Linked DNA regions of Homo sapiens: regions 1, 2, 3 and 4 are each linked to region 5. The links are contacts of gene promoters, found by promoter capture Hi-C in blood cells and fetal thymus (Javierre and others, 2016). All regions are on one chromosome and are shown on one strand. The core of a region is centred on a gene start or on the middle of the fragment in contact, and the rest is flanking DNA. Distances in the headings are between cores, read along the strand shown. Region 1 has its middle 220 kb from the start of LINC02227. Region 2 has its middle 260 kb from the start of LINC02227. Region 3 has its middle 27 kb from the start of LINC02227. Region 4 has its middle 260 kb from the start of CLINT1. Region 5 holds the start of EBF1 (EBF transcription factor 1).

Evidence for each region. Contacts are between HindIII fragments. The CHiCAGO score rates a contact against its expected background, and 5 or more counts as called.
Region 1: a fragment that was not itself captured here is called in contact with the fragment with the promoter of EBF1 in region 5 in 5 of 17 cell types (total B cells, naive B cells, fetal thymus and 2 more); the score reaches 12.9 in total B cells.
Region 2: a contact is called between a fragment that was not itself captured here and the fragment with the promoter of EBF1 in region 5, in 3 of 17 cell types (M0 macrophages, fetal thymus and total B cells). The highest score is 6.5, in M0 macrophages.
Region 3: a contact is called between a fragment that was not itself captured here and the fragment with the promoter of EBF1 in region 5, in 1 of 17 cell types (fetal thymus). The highest score is 6.6, in fetal thymus.
Region 4: a fragment that was not itself captured here is called in contact with the fragment with the promoter of EBF1 in region 5 in 1 of 17 cell types (M0 macrophages); the score reaches 5.4 in M0 macrophages.

The regions. Positions count from the first base shown.
Region 1 is chr5:158,191,486-158,194,185 of GRCh38, reverse strand. No RefSeq gene overlaps it. Among named protein-coding and RNA genes, the nearest start is that of LINC02227, 220 kb to the left of the region's middle. The HindIII fragment of the contact is 837 bases long and covers 890-1,726 here.
Region 2 is chr5:158,144,262-158,146,961 of GRCh38, reverse strand. No RefSeq gene overlaps it. Among named protein-coding and RNA genes, the nearest start is that of LINC02227, 260 kb to the left of the region's middle. The HindIII fragment of the contact is 1,121 bases long and covers 824-1,944 here.
Region 3 is chr5:158,435,869-158,438,568 of GRCh38, reverse strand. No RefSeq gene overlaps it. Among named protein-coding and RNA genes, the nearest start is that of LINC02227, 27 kb to the right of the region's middle. The HindIII fragment of the contact is 2,392 bases long and covers 184-2,575 here.
Region 4 is chr5:158,118,044-158,120,743 of GRCh38, reverse strand. No RefSeq gene overlaps it. Among named protein-coding and RNA genes, the nearest start is that of CLINT1, 260 kb to the right of the region's middle. The HindIII fragment of the contact is 898 bases long and covers 987-1,884 here.
Region 5 is chr5:159,098,511-159,101,210 of GRCh38, reverse strand. It overlaps EBF1 (EBF transcription factor 1), which reads left to right and starts at 1,295. Exons shown (of 16, transcript NM_024007.5): 1 at 1,295-1,866. The coding sequence starts at 1,733. LINC02202 (long intergenic non-protein coding RNA 2202) reads right to left here and starts at 728. Exons shown (of 3, transcript NR_109890.1): 1 at 373-728. RefSeq lists enhancers at 1-386, 387-1,015 and a silencer at 1,833-2,122. The HindIII fragment of the contact is 12,266 bases long and covers 1-2,700 here.

The DNA.
Region 1 (2,700 bases), core at 59-2,558, 910 kb after region 5:
CCAGAGTTAAGGCCAATGACACCTCTTAATTTGCTCTCTTTCCTATGATGTGATGCCGTGTCATCCAAATTAGACACAGTTACCTCCAAGGTATACTCAGTGTCATCATAGCCATGAAAAAAAATCACAATACATCTTCCCAGACCAATTTTTCTTTCAGTGCCTAACAGTGGGGCAGGTAGATTATTCTTATTAGAAAGCAAGCACAAATGTAAATCAGAAAATTCAAACAGATTTTTAAGATAAAACATTAGTCTTCAAAGAAATTATAGATTTCCAGGGACTATTTTGAGCTCAGCCCTATTACCTCCCTGAAAATGAATTTACTCCCTTCCATCATAAGGGATTCTTTGATTTAAAAAAAAAAAAAAAGAGCTTATGCGTGTGGTAGGCCTAAATAGTGATCTCTAAAGATATCCAGGTCCTAATCCCCAGAACCTGTGAATCTTGCTTTATGGCAAAAAGGATTTTGCAGGTGTGACTAAAGATTTTGAGATGGTGTATGTTTATCACAGCACTATTCACAATAGCAAAGACATGGAATAAACCCAGCTGCCCATCAATGGTGGATTGGATAAAGAAAATGTGGTATATGTACACCATGGAATACTATGCAGCCATAAAAAAGAATGAAATTATGTCCTTTGCAGCAACATGGATGCTGCTAGAGGCCATTATCCTGAGAGAATTAACGCAGAAACAGAAAATCAAATACAGCCTGTTCTCACTAATACGTGACAGCTAAACACTGGATACATATGGACACAAAGATGGGAACAGTAGACAGTGGGGGCTCCAGAAGTGGGGAAGGAGGGAGCTGGGGAAAGGTTTGAAAAACTACCTATCAGGTACTATCTTCACTGCTTGAGTGACAGGATCATTAGAAGCTTCTCCTCAGCATCACACAATATACCCATGTAACAAACCTACACATGTATCCTTGAATCTAAAAATAAATTTAAAAAAATTAAGACATTGAGATGAAAGATTATCCTGGATTATCTAGGTAGACCTTACATGTAATCATAAGTATCCTTCTAAGGGAAATACAGGTGGAGTTATGACTACAGAAAGGAGGTGACGTGGTGATGGAGGTAGAGACTGGAGTGATAAAATTTGAAGACGGAGGAAGGGGCCATAAGCAAAGACATACAGATGGCCACTAGAAACTGAAAAGGACAAGAAAACAAGTTCTATTCCCAGAATCTCAGAGGGAACCCTGCCAACACTTTGATTCTAGCTAGCCCAGGAAAACCCATTTTGGACTTCTGACCTGTATTGTAAGAGAAGAAATCTGTATTGTTTTAAGCCACTAAATTTGTGGTAATTCATTATAGCAGCATCAGAAAACTAATATACTTCAGAAATAAGAGTGCAGGTCACTGAGTTCAGCAACTTACACTATTATTACGAATGGTTTTACTTTGAACCACAAAGAACTTAGGATATTTGGAGATAACTATTTTATCTCCTTTCCATTAAAAAGTATTCCATTAAGCCACAAGGCATGTTTTCCTCTGACTGCCTTCCAGGCACTTGCTCATATCATTTCCCCTGCCTAGAAAGCCATCCTCATCCTCACTACTTTAGGTATTATGGTAAAACCAATAAATAAAATCTCCCTCAATTGAGATGCTTGATGAGAGTTAGATTTTCTGTCTCTAATAAGTTTTAGTAATTAGAAAGAGCAAAGAAAAGATTTCTAATCCCATAAAAGTAGGAAGCTTTTACCTCCAGTGCCAGTCTTAGATTTTTAGACTGTATGATCTCAGAGGCAACAAGCTGTCTTTTCTAGTGGCCTGCTGTTGTACCGTAAATGCATACTGTTCATTGGGGATTTTAGTTCCACTTCTCTAGTGGTCCCCAATAAAATGAAAATAATAGTTAAAAACCACTCTCAATCACTACCCCAAATTATAAATCAGTTTTAAAATAGGCTTACATTTTGCTCAGATCCTCTGATGAATTATCAAAAAAGTGAAACAACTGGAACTTACATTAAAGAGTTAACTGGAAAATAGGCAAAGATGATCCAATATACCACTAGTAGGAGACCCTGAAGAAGAAAACGAGAGAAGAGATGATCCTCAAGGGAACAGTATTAAAAACTATAGTTCAAAAAAGTTTTTCTGATACCAAAAAAAAAGTGATTTGAACCGTATATTAAAAGAACATGCCATGTACCTGGGAATATTGACCCAGAATGACCAAAACTAAGACATAGTCTAGAAAAATTATTGTATTTAAAAGAAAAAATTATTTGGACATCTAGGCAAACAGGGCACATACTCAATAAGGAAAATTAATTATCCTCAAATTTTTTTGACAGCAATTCATTATGCCAGGAGACATTACAGTAGTATATTTAAGATATTCAAAGAGAGAAAATGTGAACTAAGGATTTTATATCCAGAAAATCACAAATAGCTACTAACCTGCAAAAACTCAGAGAACACTGTTCCCATGAGCTCCTCCTAAGGAATCTACTAAAGAACAAGTCTCAGATAGGTATTGCTGGTGAATATTACTATATAGGTAATTAGAAGTTAAAAGAAAGAGACTGTAGTGTGTACTGCCTGTATGATTCAAAATGAAATTATAGTACACTTATGAAAATGGGGAAATGATTAGCATATGGAAAAAAGTTTTATCTGCTTTCAGTAATAAAAATGCCTGTTACAGTACTAGTACTAATATTCT
Region 2 (2,700 bases), core at 135-2,634, 950 kb after region 5:
TTAAACACCTCTGGTGATGGACGGCTCATTTCTGGAGAAACGAGTTACATCCAGCTGTCAGCCTTCCGAAAAGAGAGCAGAAGGGGGGCCTGGACATTAAGGTTATTAGGGTGATATACACATAGGTAGGTAGGTATGTTTTGTCACATACTCACAGGTTTGCATAACAAGAGCTCAGATTCTTTGGTTATCTGGGATTGGTTTATTTTGATGCTTCTCCAGTCTGAGAGACCCCCAAGACAGAGCAAACTGTCATCTGTCAATTAAACACCCTCCAACTATGCCCAGACTTAAGAGGCTGCCATTAAAATAAACTGAGGGCTGTCTGATTTTTAAATCTCTTTTGTTCCTGGGCTAGCAGAGAGCCATGTGGTGGGAGGGTGGAGGGACAACTGGAATAATGACCTCCTAGTTCTTTAATTACAGCACCAATAATCCCCTTTATATTCTGATGTTTTGTAACATGTGTATGGTTTTGTCTTATTTCATCTTAAAGGCCAAACAAAAGCTGACTCCAATTGCTAAAAACACACAAGGCCCCAGCCACAGGCCTCAAGCAAGGAAACAAACAAATAGGAGCATGGGAACCCAATTTCTGCGATTAAGTATGACAATGGTGTAGAGTCCATATGTCTCAGGAAAAAGGGGACATTTAAAAAGTCTCCACAGTGCTCTATGAAATCAGGAACACCCAGGACCCATGCCATTGTTCATTCTTCAGTGGAACATCATATGGACTCTGTCCTTCCCTTCAACTTAAAGATGGATGGGCAATTGTTTAACCCCAGTGTTTTTAATTAATTAGGTCTCTAACACCAAAGCTTTAAGTGAAGTTGCTTAATTTAGACTTTGCTTTGTGGGCTATAGTACTCATTGCTATTTTTTATTCATTTTTATTTTCCATATGACTCAGCCAGTCAAGGAGAACAAGGCTGTGAAATTTTACAAACCAGTTCCCCAGAGATAACAGAAAACGTCAGATTTATTGTCACGGGGGAACGATTTTCTAACTTGGGCCTAGGTATGTCCAGAGCAAGAGCAAAAAGTAAAACACATATTTTGGCTTTTTTCACCTGTCGAGAGATGGGGTAAGAATGTGTTTTAGGTCATCTTTGGGTTCTAAATGCTTACTTACAGACTCGAGATTCAAACTGGCATTCTCTTTCATTCTAGAAAAGAAAGTTTGGTAAGGAGTGATTTTTTTTTTAAGGCCAGGCAATCTGGTTGTATCCATCATTACCCTTACTTAATGACCTGCTTGTAAGTTAGCAGCTGCTGTTGCCAAGGAGAGGTACCTGGTTTCTAACAGCAGTACCTCATTGCTAGCTGGGGTGAGGGAATGAGAGGACTCAATGGCCAGCCTCAGGGCCATGTGGATGAGTGGACCCAGGTTAAAAAGAATGTGCTTTTTCTCAGTTACCTAGAAGGACTGTAAGTGTCTCCCTTGGAAGAAACTGAGAAAAAAAAAAAAAAAAAAAAAAAGGACCAGTCAAGTACAGAGTCATCCTAAAACTGGACAAAGCCTTTTGGAAAAAAAAAAAAAAAAAAAAAAAGCAGGGTTAAAAGGAAAGTATTTCTAGAGATCACATGTTCTTGGAAAAGAACATAAAATACGATTTTAGAACAAAATGCCAATTTACTCATTTCTAGTGAAAAATCTAATCACTGAGCAAAAAGAAAATATTTGTGCAAGTATGATCTGGGCATTCTCTTCCTGCTGTCAAGTTGAACGGAAAGCCAGATGTAGGATCAGAGCGGGGCTTGGTGCTCTGGGATCAGCAGGGAAAGGCCAGATAAATGGGATACTTAACAGTGACAAAGATATGCCAACTGGACCATAAATGTTCTAAGTCCTTCAGCAGGAACACTTTACATTCATGGCCATTTTAGCCCTCACCTGGCACTAGCACCAAAAATAAAGAGATACAAAACCAAAATCAAGCTTCTTTCACTGGCCTTTGAGTAGTCCATAGAGAGTGTGGCTGCTTCCTTCCAGGGTGATCTGGAAGGAGGAGAATAGCCAAGTTCACAGGTATAAGCACTGACCCGTATATTCAGAACACTAAAGACACCTGAGATGTAGACTAAAAGTGCAAGTCTAGAAACTCATTAATTGAAGTGCCAGTCCTTTAATTTATGATTAAAAAAAACTAATTACCTTCAAAGGATGATAGAAGCAATTCATTATCTTTAAAACCAGTAAATAAAGGAAGAGAATCAAGCATTTATCCTATATCTCCTATATGAACAATACCACGGGGTAATCAAAAAGTAGATGAGGGGAAGCATCCATTTATGTTTTCCAGCTAATAAATGACAAGGAAATGATAGCATTAGATATCACCATCTGGCAATTTCCAGTGATTTAATGAATCCAAGCACTGAGCATTGGCTAATGTTAACATTTCTTAAAAAGACCAAAAATCAGATAGTGTGTGCCTCTTAGTAAAAGAACTCAATGCCACCTACCAAATCAATTGAATCTGAATCTAACCAAGTATCCCAATGTAGCTCCCAATTTGCAGAAGATAAAGAGGAACATGTTGGACTGTACAATGAGTATGCAATCAGCAATATCTATATTGTAGGAAAACTATAGGTCAAAAGGTAAATTGTAAGAAAAAGAAAAGAAAGGATGAGGAAACTGTACATTAAAAGAGACTTGAAAGACGTGTTAATTTTCTTAATGCACAAGACTAA
Region 3 (2,700 bases), core at 130-2,629, 660 kb after region 5:
AAAATTCTTGTTGAGTAAATAGAAAAGCTACATATTTGTCCAGAGTATTGATCAGCCTTATCTAGTGCCAGCCAAAACGTAGAAGTCTGAGGCTTTTTGAGAATAACTACTTAATTTATAACAGTAATCATAATACAAAGCATTAGCAACATAGGAAAATGAATCTCTTCAATATTGCAAGCTTCAAAGGTTGTGTTTGTTTGCTTTGCTTTTATAAAAAACCCTAACCTGTCCTTCTGGCTGTGTTATCACTGGGTTTGGTCTGAGAAGAGCCAAGGAGTACTCACAAACCAATCCATAAAAATAAGAAAGCACAAAAGAGAAGTATAAATTAGGTCTCTTATTCCATTTGTCAGTCTTATGACCCTCAATGCTATGACTCCCCACTGTCTATAGAAACTCGAACTTCATGTCCAACAGTCTAACTCCAAGGGCAACTTTCAGAATTTACTTCCACCCTGCACTGTCAGCATGCACACTTCTCTCAGGGGCACAGACTAACTCACCAATCTGGACACCAATTTGGTGGTTCCTGGACTCTGTGCCTTTTTTCACATTGTCTACTTCTTTTTGGTATATCACTCTCTACTTTTGTTGATAATATTCCTCCTCCACAGCCCAACTCCAGTGTTGCTCTGCCATTGAGTCCTCTTTAGACTCTCATTTGGAATTAATTCATCTCCCTTCTTAAAAGCCTTCAATGGTTTCCCATTGAATGGAGAAGAAAATTTTGCATCCTTTTGCCTTATGATCTGCCTGGCTATCTTCCCTATCTCATCCCAAGCCATGATGCCCCAGTCACCCTGGATCTTCTTAATTTTCCAGGATTTCCCTAGAGTATTCCAGTCATACATCCCTTACACTCTGTATTTCCACTGCTTGGAAGGCTCTTCCCTCGGCTTTTCTGGAAACTGCCTCCTTGGCACCTGGTAGGTCTCGGCTGAAATGTTACTTCTCCAGAGGTCCTTCCCGGACACCTAGTAGAGCTATACATCTGCCCTGCTCTAGTACTGTTACTGTATACTATTAAGATGTGTTATCTATCTTCATACACTTTTTCTGAATGTATAATTACATATTTATTTGTTTAATTGTCTAACGTTTCTCTTTCCCACAAAAAAACATAATTCTCAAGAGGTCATGAACTCAATATATCTCACTGATACAACTCTAGATCTCACATTTAACATGATGCCTTACATTGTAGAAGTTCAACAAATATTTTTTGAATGAATGAATATATCACTTCTTCCTCTACACATTTATAACAGTTGGATGATAAGCTGCCATATATTGCAGATGTTGACATTAGTTTTTTATCTCACGCTGGATTACAAGTTTCTTTATAGCAAAGGATCATGAATAAATGAGATAATGCTTGCAAAGCACCAGGCCCAAATTAGGTCCTCAATCAGCTTTTGCTCTCATAAGGTTGAACATCAGAGACTAAGTGGAGGTGGAGAGTCTTGGGTTTTCATAAAACTTCACCTATTCCCAGCTCCATAATTTTGGCCAAATTTGTTCAGTTTCTCTGGGCCTATGTATTGGTCCATTCTCACATTGCTATAAAGAAATACCTGAGGCTGGATAATTTATAAAGAAAAGAGGTATAATTCTCATGGGTTCTGCAAGCTGTGCAGAAAGCATAATGCTGACATCTCCTCAGCCTCTGAGGATGTCTCAGGGGACTTACTACCATGGCAGAAGGCAAAGGGGAAGTAGGCCCTCTTATATGGCAAGAGCAGGGGGGACAAAGAGAAGGGGAAGGTGCTAGACATGTTTAAACAACCAGATCTTATGAGAACTCTATTATGAGAACAGCACCAAAGGGATAGTTCTAAACCATTCATGAAAGATTCACCCCCATGATCCAGTCACCTCCCACCAGACCCCCTCCAACACTGGGATTACAATTCAACATGAAATTTAAGTGTGGACACAGATCCAAACCATATCAGCCTGTCTCCTCATTTGTAGATTGTTAATGATGGCACTCACGTTACTGGGTGGTTGTGAGAATGGTATTAGCTAATGCAGGTCAACTGCTCAGCACAATGTCTGGAAAGTAAAAAGTGTTCAATATGGTGGCTATTACTATTACATTAGTCATACCAAGAAACAGAAAAGCTGTGCAAGACATCCAGGAGCTGATCTAGTACTGTTGGCTAGGCTTTGATGTTCCCTTTTGGAATGTAAGCAATTTCAAAGAGCATCAACCTCAGACATGGTCACTCTGTGACCATGATGGAGCGAGACAAAGACTAGACCATTCCATAATATTGTCTGAACACAGAGAAACTTCAGCATTGTTCAAACTGCAAAAATGCTCAATCTCCCCTCCTTCCTGGCTAATGTGAATGATTGCTACTTCTTAATCAATTACAGCCTTAGAACTGTTCTGGCATTCCCTTCTTCTATATAAGACTGATTTAGATACTCAACCTTCATCTAGTCTCTCCCTCTAAATAAGATTTCTTTAGATACTGAATCATAGGATTATTCCTACTTCCTGACAGCACCAATTCAGAAGAAAACTGCTTCCTTAAACTCTCTCCCAAATCACCTAATGCAAGCTTGTGTCCCACAAGTCCTTTCTAACACTCTCTTACTGAGATGACTTATAGTTCCTCATGGTGTGCATTCTCTCTCACTGAAATTAGTAATAAACCCAACTTGTTCAACAACAGTATTTTCCTGGTG
Region 4 (2,700 bases), core at 186-2,685, 980 kb after region 5:
GGGATGTCCTAACTCCATCAAAATTTCTTGCAGTTCTAATGTTTAAGAGAACTTTTGGAACTGACTTGTTTGCAACAGTCTGCTGTTGATTACACAGGGAAACCAAGCAGAGAACTGTGAACAAGTTCTCCACACCAGGTTCATAAAATAAGATTGAAAAAGATAAAAGAAACCATAATTTCAAAACCATCTAGACAAAAATCTGGCACTGTGCCCAGATTTGGGGCCCATTCCCTAAACAGGTCAAAGCCTCCAAAAGGCAAGCAAAAGATCCTTTTAGCCTGGGCCAGCGGAAGAGACTTGGACTGGAGTTCGGGCTTCAGGGTTCTGGGTCCTGCCATCAACCAGCTGTGTGATCTTAGGCAAGGTGTTTGACCTCTCTAAGCTTTGGTTTTAAAATCTTTACAATGAAATGGTTTGAGGGTGGGTAAGATCTGATGGTTGGGCTTGAACCCTGGCTCTACCACTTATTGGATACATAACCTTGGGCAAGTTAATTAACCAGAGTGTGGCTCAATCTCCTGACTTGTAAACTAGAGATCACTGCACTACTTACTTCACAGGGCTATTGTAAGAATTAAAGGAAAAATAATACATATAAAAACCTAGAATGATGCCTGAAATATGATACTTAATAGACATTGGATGCGTCTGCTGTTAAATACTCTGGCTGTAACTCACTGAAACTAACAGGCACAGGAAGGACACGGCAGTTATGTGAGCTGACTCTGAGAAAAGCCTGCTAATGTCTTGATGACTGAGCCTCATCGCTGATTCAGTCCTCCCGGGAACTCAGAATCCTGACCCCTGATTCCATGAAGAGGTATTTTTACCTGTTCCTCTTAAAAAACATACCTACAGTACACTGAAGTTTAAATTCCAGGTTCCCGAACCACACTTGGCAAACACCAACTCCTGCTCTGGTTTAGCTGCCCTCAAAGGCTCTCTGCATGCGTCTCTCATGGGGAAATCTCTAGTTCTAAGCTTGCTTTTACAATTTGTTAGCTGTTTAACCTTGACAAAGATGTTCAACTCCTTTGCTAATTTCTTTTCTAGGGAAAAGAAAATTATAATGTCAGTATCTTGCATGGCTCTAGAGATGAACAAATGAGAAGATAATGAAATGTTCACCGCTACCATTTATTGAGCCGCTATTACGTACCAGGCAACATACTAGACATTTTACATATATCATTTCAGTTCAGTAATCCTCACAAGAATCCTAAGAGGTAAGAAGTAAATAACACCATCCCTTGCCAGGGGCTTAGACTTCGAAGTCATTCTCAAATCTTTGTTCTTACATTCCACACCAATCCATAAGCAAGTCTTCTTGTCTCTACCTTCAAAAACTAGCTCCAACTCACTTCTCACCTATTCTACCTCCACCACTCTAGCCCTCGAACCTGCCTGGACCACTGCAATAGTCTGCTAGCCAGTGTCCTTGCCCCCTAGTGACATCCGCTGTCTCCACAGCAGCCAGCACAGCCCCCTTCAGAACATCAGCAGGGCCATTGCTTTTCCCTGTCAAAAGCCCCCAGTGGCTCTCCACCACACAGAACAAAACCCAATTTTAGCCATAGCCTACTGGCTGGCCTCTACCAACCTTTACAAAGTTTGGAACAAGAGTTCAAATTAAGCTCCATGAACAAAATTTGTTTAAGTTTTAAATAAAAAAAAAACTTTAAAAAATATTTTCTGTTTATCCACTTGATAAATATACAAAATGGTGAAGCCTACAAATATATGTAAATCCATGGCTCTTATATGACAAAAAGTATAAATCTATGGTTTTAAATGTCCGAAAGTTGGCAAAATATCAGATTGTTCCATTTAATAATTATTATTATGCATGTTTGTGTGTTTTGTTGATGGGCTAGCAAAGCTTGGATAAATGATAAAATAAGTATGTAGATAATGCAAATTATCATTCATCCAAATTTTTTATTTTAGCAAAATAAATGTTATTATAAGTAAGACTTTCACATAATTTGTTCTTTTGACAATAATCATCCAAAAGACTAAAAGTTAACTGTATTCAAATTACTCCATATTAAAATTAATTTTTATCAAAAATTCTAATATAACTGTACAAAATCAAAACACTTAAAATTATTTTTCCTGTTTGTAAAAATGCTGTTTTATTCTAAAATATTAATTTTATCTATTAAAATTAAAACAAAAGGCTAATTACATTAATGAATACCAATATTTTAAATCAAATTATTTAAATAAAGCTGAAATGTCTTTACTTTTTAAAAATCTAATTAAAACACATTAAAATCTTTTTATAAAAATAAAACTACTCATAATTCTAGTTTGAAAGAACATCTAGTTGCCAATATAAAGACTCAGTACCATATTTCATACTTTTTACCACTAGACATAAAAATACATACACAAATTTAGAAGTAATGTCAATTTTTTACTAAAATGTTCCTCAGCCACTATACGCAACTGAATTCATAAGCACTTTCACAATCACCTTTTGGAAGATGAAGCAAGAAAATGGATGACTGACTCCACTAGAAACTAACACTTTATTATGCAAAATTTTTTTGATATCTGAGAAGAAGAATTATCAAATTATTTGTCTTTCCTTTTACCTAAATACTTCATCTACTCAAATCCTTCCCACGTTCTGAAGCTGTGTTAGTTTCCAGGGTCGGCAACAGCATAGCCCTCAGTCAAACCTTGACAGCT
Region 5 (2,700 bases), core at 46-2,545:
GGGAATGAGGGGTTGGCATTTAATTTGAGAAAATTTAAAAACGCATCCTGACACAGCCCCAGTGAGAGCATTCATTCCACCATTCACATATCTCGAGGACTGCCCGAGAGAGGTGAGCGTGTGAGTGAGAACAGTGCCCAACCCTGGCAGCCTCTAGGCTAGCGGCCGAGAGAGAAGCGTTTCAGAGGCCGGGGTGGGAGTAGAGCCTGGTACCCCACTTCCTGGGGACCCACAGCGCCTCATTTGCCGGGGCCCAGCGTCCATTCATCCCTCCCAGCGTGGAGGCCGTGCCCCTCCGAGAGTTACCAGCCCCGACCTCGCGCACCCATATTCCATCCCACCGCCCCCGCCTCAAAGCGAAGAGGTGGGCACCTGGGACGCGCGTCCTGCTTTTTCTGCCCGGGCTCTCCCGTCTCCTCCACTTTTGTCCCCGACGTCCCAGAACGGCGGAGCAGGACGCGGCATCAGCCCTGGGAGGGCGCAGCCTGCGAGCCTCCAGCGCGCTCAGGGCGCGGCGAGGATGCTAAAGGACTGCAATGGCCAGGATGCAGATCCCCAGCTCAAATTCCTGAGGAAGACACCCGCCTCCCTTTCCCTCTGTCCCCTCTCCGTCCTCGCTCGGACCCGCTCCTCCCCAGCCCAGACGTCAGTGCTCAGCGCTCCTTCGCTCGCCACTTTGCGAGGAACTTTGGCCGGCTCCCCTGCGCCACCGGGAGCGGGATGTTAATGAGAGAGCGTGGCCTGGCGCCGCCAGCGAGCCGGCTCCCGGGCCGCGATTGGCTGCGGTGGGCGGAAAGATGACGTTATGCAAATGAAGGGGCGGGGCCTCGATGCGCGGGCCCCGCCTCCTCCCTTTGGGGTTAGTGTGCCTGTGTTTAGCTCTGGGGAAAGTCAAACTGGATTCCATAGGGAAAGCCTGCAAATCACTTCTATTTTAGCAAGGAGAAAACAGAATCTCCATCCAGCAGGGTCCACCCCTCTCTCTTTCTCCCTCTCCTCTCTATCTCTCTTTCCCTCCCCCCCTTTCCTCTCTCCCTCTCTCCCCTTCCCCCCACCCTCTCTGGTGTATCTGTCTACGGCAACCAGCGTCCTCCTCATCTACACGCAAAGGAAAGAAACATCTTTGGTTGGGAGAGAAGGAGGAAAAAAAAAGAGAGAGAGAGGAAAAAACTTGCCTGGTTGTGGAAAATGACACTTGAAGTAGCAAAGCCGGCAGCGCGAGTTGAGTCTATTGTTTCTTAAATTGCCATCAGGGTTTTTTTTTTTTTTTTTTTTTTTTTTTTTTTTTTTTCTTCCTGCTTCTTCAAGTGAAGGGTACCTCTACAAAAGGAAACTCCAGCCCCTCCTGTCCTCCACCGGCCTGTGATCATTACAAAAAAAAAAAAAAAAAAGCAAAAAAAAAAAAAAAGCACCCAAACCAAAAATCAACCAACCAAACAACCCCCAACAGCCAAGCATACATCTCTAATTTTATTATTTTGGTCTTTTCGTTGGATTTTCCCTTTCTTCTTTTTTTCGGGTTATCGCTCAGTTTTGAGCAGAGGTTTACATTTTTTAAAAATTTGCTTTCCAGCCCGCCTTGATCTTCTAAGTGCGAGTTCATCGTCTGAGAAAAAAAAAAATCTCTGGTTGGCGTTTTTGTTTCTTTTCTTTTCTTTCTTTTCTTTCCTTTTTTTTTTTTTTTAATTTTTTTCAAGGGGGAGGAGATTTTCCACAAGAAAAGGTTGTTTTCATGTTTGGGATTCAGGAAAGCATCCAACGGAGTGGAAGCAGCATGAAGGAAGAGCCGCTGGGCAGCGGCATGAACGCGGTGCGGACGTGGATGCAGGGCGCCGGGGTGCTGGACGCCAACACGGCGGCGCAGAGGTGGGTACTGCGCGGGGACCGCGGCCGAGGTGAGCCGCGAGCGGGAGAGCCGGGAGGCGGAGGCGGCAGCGGCAGCGGCAGCTGCTGCCGCGGGGCCGGGCGGCGGGGTGAGTCCGCAGCCGCTGCGCTCCGCTCTCCGCCGGGGCTCCGCGCTCTCCAGCCGCTCTGCCTTCGTCGCCTGCGGCCGGAGGACCTGGAGCTGTCTGCGAGGAGCCCACGCTTTGCCAGCACTTTCCCCTGCCTCGTCTGTGACTGTTTTCATTTTGTTTTAACCCAGAAGAGGCGTCTCAACACAGCATGTTGGAGATCTGTGTTTTATGTTTTTATGTGATTGCTCTTTCTTTTCCGGCCGGCTCTCTTTTCTTCTTTCCCTTCGCTCTTCCTTTCCCTCTTTTCTTTTTTCTTTCTTTCTTTCTCTTCCTTCCTTCCTTTTTCTTTCTTTTTTCTTTTTCTTTCTTTTTTTCTTTCCTCCTTTTCTTTTTCCTTTTTCTTTCTCTTTCCTCTTCCTGCCTTTCTTTTTTCTTTCTTCCTTCTTTCCTTTCTCCCCCCTTTATTTTCTTCTCTTCTCCTTCCTCTTCCTTTCTTCCCCTCTTCCCTCCTTCCATTTCTTTCGTTCTTCGTTCTTTCCTGTCTCTCTTCCTGCCTTCTTTTCTTTCTTCTTTCTTTCATTTCCTTCTCTCATTTCTTTCCCCCACCTTCCCTTAATTTCTCCCTCACTCTTTTCCTTCCTCCCTTCCTCTCTCCATTTTCTTTCTCTTCTTTCTTCAGCTTCCCTCCTTTCTCCTCTTTCTCCTTTCCTTACCTCTCTGGCTTTCCTGTTTTTTCGTCCCATTT